Regions from separate parts of the Homo sapiens genome. Here regions 2 and 3 are each linked to region 1. The links are contacts of gene promoters, found by promoter capture Hi-C in blood cells and fetal thymus (Javierre and others, 2016). All regions are on one chromosome and are shown on one strand. The core of a region is centred on a gene start or on the middle of the fragment in contact, and the rest is flanking DNA. Distances in the headings are between cores, read along the strand shown.

Evidence for each region. Contacts are between HindIII fragments. The CHiCAGO score rates a contact against its expected background, and 5 or more counts as called.
Region 2: a contact is called between a fragment that was not itself captured here and the fragment with the promoter of AVPR1A in region 1, in 2 of 17 cell types (M2 macrophages and megakaryocytes). The highest score is 5.7, in M2 macrophages.
Region 3: a fragment that was not itself captured here is called in contact with the fragment with the promoter of AVPR1A in region 1 in 4 of 17 cell types (M2 macrophages, M0 macrophages, megakaryocytes and 1 more); the score reaches 10.1 in M2 macrophages.

What each region holds. Positions count from the first base shown.
Region 1 is chr12:63,149,873-63,152,612 of GRCh38, reverse strand. It overlaps AVPR1A (arginine vasopressin receptor 1A), which reads left to right and starts at 1,412. Exons shown (of 2, transcript NM_000706.5): 1 at 1,412-2,740. The coding sequence starts at 1,777. The HindIII fragment of the contact is 3,248 bases long and covers 1,205-2,740 here.
Region 2 is chr12:63,501,195-63,503,934 of GRCh38, reverse strand. No RefSeq gene overlaps it. Among named protein-coding and RNA genes, the nearest start is that of LINC03056, 130 kb to the right of the region's middle. The HindIII fragment of the contact is 2,922 bases long and covers 1-2,740 here.
Region 3 is chr12:63,453,613-63,456,352 of GRCh38, reverse strand. No RefSeq gene overlaps it. Among named protein-coding and RNA genes, the nearest start is that of LINC03056, 81 kb to the right of the region's middle. The HindIII fragment of the contact is 5,832 bases long and covers 1-2,740 here.

The sequences.
Region 1 (2,740 bases), core at 163-2,662:
AGGAAAGGCAGGTCCTTTCATTTCCATTTATAAGACGCACAGACCCAGGATTATCTAGCCACAGGAAGCAGGACTCCAGATTTCAAGTCCAGCATCTCAACGTGACAACCTTGGTAACTCTGCATGAACGGACTGGATAGTAAAGTGGAATTATTACTGAGAACTGCAATGAATAAAATCTTTTGCATTTTTTGCCTACGTTTCACAGAGGGTGATATTTTTCTGAGGCAATTAAATTTATACCACGGCCACAATACTGAAACGTTCTGACCAACAAAGTCATGCTCCTGCATCTACACAGCAGATAACTGCAGAAACGGCTTCCTTTCTTCCTTGTAAAATTGCCTGAAAACAGCTCCCCCTTGCTGTCCGTCGAGGCATATCTTCACCAACGTTAAAACAGAGCTGAGGGAGATCGCATTTCTGCCTCCCTCCCGCCCTGCAGAGGGGCTCCAGCTGTTCAGAGTAACGGATTACTAGGTAGGTGGTTGTTTCCCCTCCTTCCCAGGGCCTCTTTCCTCTCTTTGAGATTGCCTCTTTCTTACTCCTGAGCACAGGAGCCGGGCGGGTTTTCTGTCCCTTGCCCTGGACAGCACTGCCTGGATGGCCGCTGTCCGGCAGCTGCTCTTTGTCCACCCAAAAAGATGTCCCCACGACTCAGTAGTAACCAGACGGTCCCCACGGACCACTGCGGCCAAATTTCCGCCATCCCCGCTGTGGGAATCAGGCTTTTCCCGCAGAAAACCCCAGGAATCTAGAGAAAACTCCTTAAGTCCCTAGTCTCCATAGAGAAAACCAGGAGACACTCCCCCCAAACCCCGCTGTGAATACAGGCACAGCAGCCACTGGGGCTGCAAAGTGATGAGTGCGTTCTTCCCGTCGCAAACATAGGGTAATAAATAGCATGCATCAAAGACGTTACTAGGAAGAGATAGCTCTTTAAGTCACGAGCGGGGAGAAATGTTTGCCCCGGGAAAATTTGCCTGGGGAATAAAATTTGCCAGACTGCTGCACGGGTGAGCTCGGTGAGAAGGAAGAAACCCGGACTGGAGGAGGTGAGGTCGAGAGCCAGGTTCAGGTGCAGGAGCTAGATGCGTGGACGCCGGTGCGTGGACTGGAGGTTTCCAGGTACCGCGCTTAGCGTGCCTGTTGAAGTCAAATGCATGGTTAAGGAGGCTAGCGAGGAAGGCTAGTGAGGGAAGCTTGTGGAAACGGCTACGAGCCCAGAAAAGGCATGACTCGTCCAGTTGTCCAAGTTTTTGGAAGGGAAAAGCGGGAAAGCGCCACGATCCCACCTACTGTGAGGAGGAATCTGCGAGTCTCCCAGCTCCACCCCCTCCACAGTGATGCAGAGGACAAACACCGACGTAGGGAGAGGAAAAAATAAAACTCCAGGGAGCGGGGAGTAGGCAACCAGCAGTCTTCCGGCAATAGGGCGGGAGGGAGCGCGTCCCAAGGAAACAAGCACCGCATAAATACTTGAGTTGGGAACCCAGTGCTTCCGGAAGCTCGGAGCTCACCTTCCCGACCTCGCCGAAGTTGAAAAAAGGCAGAGCAGGGAGAGGGGCCAGCTCACCCTGCTGAGAGCTGCTCAGTGGGCAGGCGGGACGCTGCTCCGGGAGACGCCCACTGGAGGGATCGCAGAGCCCGGCAAGCTGCGAGCGCGCCAAAGACCCTGCGCTTCGGACGAGGAGCCCAAGTCCTCCGAGACGGGGAGGGAGCGGCCCGCGAGGGCTGGAGCTCCGAAGAGGGCCGAGTAGGAGCTGCATGGACAGCATGCGTCTCTCCGCCGGTCCCGACGCGGGGCCCTCGGGCAACTCCAGCCCATGGTGGCCTCTGGCCACCGGCGCTGGCAACACAAGCCGGGAGGCCGAAGCCCTCGGGGAGGGCAACGGCCCACCGAGGGACGTGCGCAACGAGGAGCTGGCCAAACTGGAGATCGCCGTGCTGGCGGTGACTTTCGCGGTGGCCGTGCTGGGCAACAGCAGCGTACTGCTGGCTCTGCACCGGACGCCGCGCAAGACGTCCCGCATGCACCTCTTCATCCGACACCTCAGCCTGGCCGACCTGGCCGTGGCATTCTTCCAGGTGCTGCCGCAAATGTGCTGGGACATCACCTACCGCTTCCGCGGCCCCGACTGGCTGTGCCGCGTGGTGAAGCACCTGCAGGTGTTCGGCATGTTTGCGTCGGCCTACATGCTGGTAGTCATGACAGCCGACCGCTACATCGCGGTGTGCCACCCGCTCAAGACTCTGCAACAGCCCGCGCGCCGCTCGCGCCTCATGATCGCGGCCGCCTGGGTGCTGAGCTTCGTGCTGAGCACGCCGCAGTACTTCGTCTTCTCCATGATCGAGGTGAACAATGTCACCAAGGCCCGCGACTGCTGGGCCACCTTCATCCAGCCCTGGGGTTCTCGTGCCTACGTGACCTGGATGACGGGCGGCATCTTTGTGGCGCCCGTGGTCATCTTGGGTACCTGCTACGGCTTCATCTGCTACAACATCTGGTGCAACGTCCGCGGGAAGACGGCGTCGCGCCAGAGCAAGGGTGCAGAGCAAGCGGGTGTGGCCTTCCAAAAGGGGTTCCTGCTCGCACCCTGTGTCAGCAGCGTGAAGTCCATTTCCCGGGCCAAGATCCGCACGGTGAAGATGACTTTTGTGATCGTGACGGCTTACATCGTCTGCTGGGCGCCTTTCTTCATCATCCAGATGTGGTCTGTCTGGGATCCCATGTCCGTCT
Region 2 (2,740 bases), core at 152-2,651, 350 kb before region 1:
TATATATGTTAAAACTCCAAGTTTAACTCATATCGCCCTACTCTCAGGGAGTTCCTAGATTAGACGCTTTAGCAAAATGAGAGCGTAAACTAAGCAATAGGAAGACTTGGGATGAAGAAAACAGAGAATTCTGCACAGGAAAACAACCATGAAAATTTCAGGATAACAACTATGCTGAGGGTCAGAAAAAAATCCTAACTGAAGTAGAAGGATGGATTATTCCAGGAGAAAGGACAACACGGAAAAAAAGTGAAATTGCTGTATTATTTGATATGTTTGAGCATTGGGGAGAGAATTCTATAAGTTCTGTAAGTAAGGGAAAGTTCTATAAGTAAAGGAAAGTTCTATAAGTAAGGAATATGACTCATGATAATGTAAGCACTAACTATGACCCCATTGGGATGATAGGGAAAGGGTATGAGGTGAAGGGGGCCATATCAAGGAGTCAAAAAGTAATGACAAAACGGATAAATCCAGAAGTAGCAGCATACACATATTTAGAAGCACAGAGGAAATAAAAAACAGCAAAATAGTTGAAGAGTTAACTGTCTGAGGGCAGTAACTGGGGGTGGCATGTGGTTGAGAGAAGAAGTGCTTTTTTGGATGTATCTTTTGGTAATATTTGATTTTTAAAAACCATGTGCAACTATTAAAACAGTTGCAACTATTTTTAAAAATAAAGATATATTTGATATTATTCTAATATATATATAATGAAAAACTATTTTCAAAGATATGACAGAGGAATATAAAGAAACTCTAAGACTAAAGAGTCTGACATAGTAAAAATAAAACTGAATATATCAATCAACATACTATTAATTGTATAAAGACACATGAGAGGGAAGGGGGAAAAAAGCAAATTACCATTATCATAAACATTAAAACAGATGGAAGAAATAAGATGAGAATGAAAAAGTCTTTAGCTTTCAAGTTTAAAACAGAAACTCAGTTCTGAGCATCCTATTACTGACATATAATTAACACTCGAAAAATTTTGTTTCAGCAAAATCACTGGTAGAAAAGCTGACATTTTATATTCTTTAAGTTATTAGATTATATTTTGATTTTGAGGAAAATGAAATTCAAGAGACTAAGAAAAATGATACAGAACAAAGCTACAAGCAACTCACCAAAATGTTGCTGATAAAATTAATATGAGACATGAAATTCATTAAAAAGCATTATTTGGATAAAGAACCATTTCCGAAGATCTCTAGAATGAAAGTTCAGGAAATAGGAGAGTAAATAATAACGTTTAATAAATATGAAGAATGCAGAGAAAAAAAGGCACAATGAGTGGTTTAGAAATTGTATTTCACCTGAAAACCAAAGGCTCATTGGTAAGTGGAGTAGACCCAAAGAAGAAATGTTTTAATGAAAATGTTTGTAATTATTGATACATTTGGGTTTAAATCTACCATGTAGTTCTGTGTTTTCTTTTATGTACCTTTTTATTCTTGTTTCTTTTCTTCCTTTCTTGCATTCTTCTAGATCTAGATTTATTACTTATTTCTGGACATTCTATAGGCACCCCTTTATTTGTTTGGATTTTATTAAAAGACAAATTTAAAAATTAATGGTAATACTAACATTTTTTCCTGCCAATTAAGAACAAAAATTGTTAACATCAATTTGAAGTAAACATTATTTGGCAATTAATTCATTTATGTACTATCCCAATGTAATTTAAGAATTGTAGCACATATTTAAAGTCAATTTATTCTACATTGACTTTGAGTTATTGTATATTCATGAAAAAAAACTAAAACCAAATCCTCAGAATTAAGTATTCAATCTTCTGAGGTGAGAGTGAGCATCTTACAACTAATCATATTATATCTGTAATTTTTCTAACTTATGCTCTCACATTATCACTTTGAAATCTTTCAGCTGTTACTATTTTTATAGAGCCTGACACTAATGGATCTGGACTATTCTTTGTTTATATTGAGTATTCTATATGAATTTCTCTGAAACAAATTGCATTAAATTTTACAATGATAATTTTAATGTGGAATGGTTTAATTTCTTAAGGATGCTTATACAGGCTAGAGTAACTGCACCTTTATTATTAGGAAAGTCTATCGACTAAAAATCTTTTATGTTGAAAAGGTTCTTGAAACTTCATTTGACCCAGTCTGATGCCTCTAGACAGGTACTATTATTCTCATTTTGTTTCTGGAAGAACTGAGACCTAGAGTAATCAAACTGCTAGCTTAACCTCTCACAACTAGTAAGTGACAGAGGGTAAAGGGATATCTGAGAATCTTATAAGGACACTACAATTTTCTTCTAGTAAAATACGCTGATCTTTTTTTGGTGCATGTTAGATCAAAAATCAAGATGAAAAGTAAATAATTTTAGTTAATCTGTTTTTCCATATCTTCAAGGTCAGTGTACCATAATTCATTTCTATCCCTCCCCCAAAATCAGAGGAAAAGAGAAATACATAATCTTTAATAGAAATTACTTCATTTGAAATGAGCGTTTCATGATTTCAATCTCCTCCTGACATATACTAATTCAGTAGCAGAAGAGTAAGATCAGGATGGAATCTATTTTCAGATGTCTTGACACAGTTCCTTCGATTTCTCCTTCAATCTCTTGGATGAGACTTCCATAGTTAAATCCAACCATGTGCAGTTTAATAGTTCAACACATTCTAATATACATGCGTTTTTAATAAATACAAAATAGCTCTGAAGGACAAGTTAATGGTCTTAATCTCACATTTATT
Region 3 (2,740 bases), core at 154-2,653, 300 kb before region 1:
TTTATTCATGATAATACAGTATGTACAGACATAATTTTTTTATAGTTTAAAAAGTCACTTTTACATTTGTTATTTTAATCTTTGTACAAATTCTATGAGATATTATCATTTCCTTCATTTTGTAGATGAGAAATCTGAGATTGAGTAACTAAGGACACATGTTGCCAGTAAGTAGTGGGTCTCGAATCCAAATTCAGAGATGAAAACCCACCAATGAATCCAGCATGTAATTACATTTCTCTTTTCTATAGGCAAATGTATGATTGTGAGTAACAGCTGTTATTATTTGGTGAAAAACTAGAAAACCTTCTAATGTGGAGATCATGGCTTCTATCCCAGTAGTTAGTATTCCTGAAAAGGTTCCTTGGATCATTAGTGACTACCTTAAAAAGAGATTCTGTGTCAATTGTTCAGAAAGTGCTGCAAACTCTTCCTGTCCTGAAGTTTCACATTTGTCTATTAAAGACCTTGAGAAATCCCATTGTAAAGAGGCCTATTTAACTTAAACTCTGCCTTGTTCAAACTCATTCCTACAGAACCACCTTTTATGTATATTTTAAGCAGAACGCCCTTTAGTAAGTCCTGCCATACTACAAGACAGTTCTTTTTCTGCTAGAGACATATATAATAGTGGTCTAAAATTTGAAGACATTTTATACACAATAATTTAATGAGCTTCTAGCCATATGCACAAAGTCCTGTACCCACAAAGATGCTTAGGGATTTGAGTTATGTGGGAAGCAGACAGCTCATTCATTCTTGGACTTTTATGTTCCCCAATTCTTGGAAAGTTCTTTTTATGGATTTGGCAATACCAGTTATTCCTCAGGGAAATTGTGTCTGCTATAGATCCCATTCTGTATTACTAATTTTTTAGAGTTCTCTGACTCAGGATAAGGCAAATGTATTTTAAGTTGCTTGATGGGAAAATTTTATAATTATATGTACACTACATAAGGCCATGAGACGGGGCACTATAGTGATTATGAGAAAATTTAAAAAAACTATTAATAATTTCCCAGTTTCCTCTGTGGAAAAAACTAGAAGGAGACTGCTAATTCCTTTGAAGATTTTCCAAACTGAGAAATGCTTATTGACTTTAGATTTTTAGCTTTGATATATTATTTACATATTAGATTCTTTGTCACCAAAGAGCTTGGAGTTTCTGTATTTTAATGTTAGAGAACATGGAAGCCAACCTGGATGATTAAAAAGCCCGATATGACTGTTATAATTATTATATTATTACTACCTTTTGCTGTAATGGGACATACATGGCAATGGCCATGTTTATTAGGGCTGGAGACAGGACTATGAAATATTCCCTGGGAAGCCTCGAGTTCATAAAAATAGTCCTGATTTTAATAAGATGACTTAGGGTTTAATAACTATAAGAATACCAAGGAGACCAACTATTTTAAGAATAGAATTCTCTGCAAAATAATTTGTATGTTTAATGTAATTTTAATACAAATCTTCACAGACGTTTTTTGTGAGATTTGACATAATCATTTCTAAAATCATCTGGAAGAACAGATGAGAATGTCCAAAAACATTCTGAGAGAGAAAAATTTTGTGTGAAATTGAACTTTCACTTGCAAATATTAAAACATATTATAAAACTTCAGTTATTAATGTACCATAGTAGTCACAAAAGAATAAATCATAGATGTAGAATAGAAAGGCAAGAAATAGACTCTAAAATATATAGAAATTTATACCAAGCTAAAGGTGGCATTTTAAGTTGATGGTGAATGGCAAGATGATTTAATAAAACAGAAAATATAGCATTGTCATTTGGACAAAAAAAGTAGATTTTCCCTCATCCCTTTGTTGAAATAAATTCCTGAGAGTTTAAAGAGTTCAAAGTAAAATTAAGAAGCTATAAAAATTTAAAAGTATAAAAATTTTTCCAAGGCTAAAAGCAAAAGACAAAATAAAATACTGATACATTTTATTACATAAAAAATTTCAAAATTAGAAGGCAAACTGGGGAAGTATTTGCAACATATATGACTGACAAAAGTTTCCTATCTTTAATATAACAAAAACTCTCACAAATTATTAAGTAAAATATGTTCTCATTAATAGAAACATGAGTAAAGGAGTGAATAGGACATTGGAAAAAGAAAAGATGATACATATATAAACTTAGTAGTCATAAAATAATTTAAAAATATGACAAGTTACAATAGAAAAATAAAGATTTTTTTCAAAAAAACTATTTTTTGGTGGGGGTTAAGTAAAATGAAAATCACTTTCATTGCTGGTTGGAAAATAAATTAATATCATCTTTATGAAGGTCAATTTGGTAATATATATCAAGTATCTTATACATGCTGAACTCCTCAGATTCTTAATTCTACTTCAAACAATTAATCCTAAGAAGATACTTAAATGTGCACAGAATTTATGTATAGAGGTTTTTATTGTTAAAATTTAGATATTCCCTAAAAGATGAGTTTTTATTCCATAGAATATTGTACTTAAGACTATCAGCCTTGGAGGATGCAGGTCTGGTTTGAATCCCAGTTTCTAATAAACATTATGCCCTTAAGCAAGTTGCTTAACTTCAAAAATGCTTGCCTCATGAGGACGTTCTAAGGAATAACTGATAATATATGTAAGGTGCTTTATACAATACCCAGAATTCCTCAATAGCAGAGCTCAATAAATGGTAGTTACTGTTATCATTACTATTATACATAGATGAATACATAATTTTAGAGAATATTGTCAT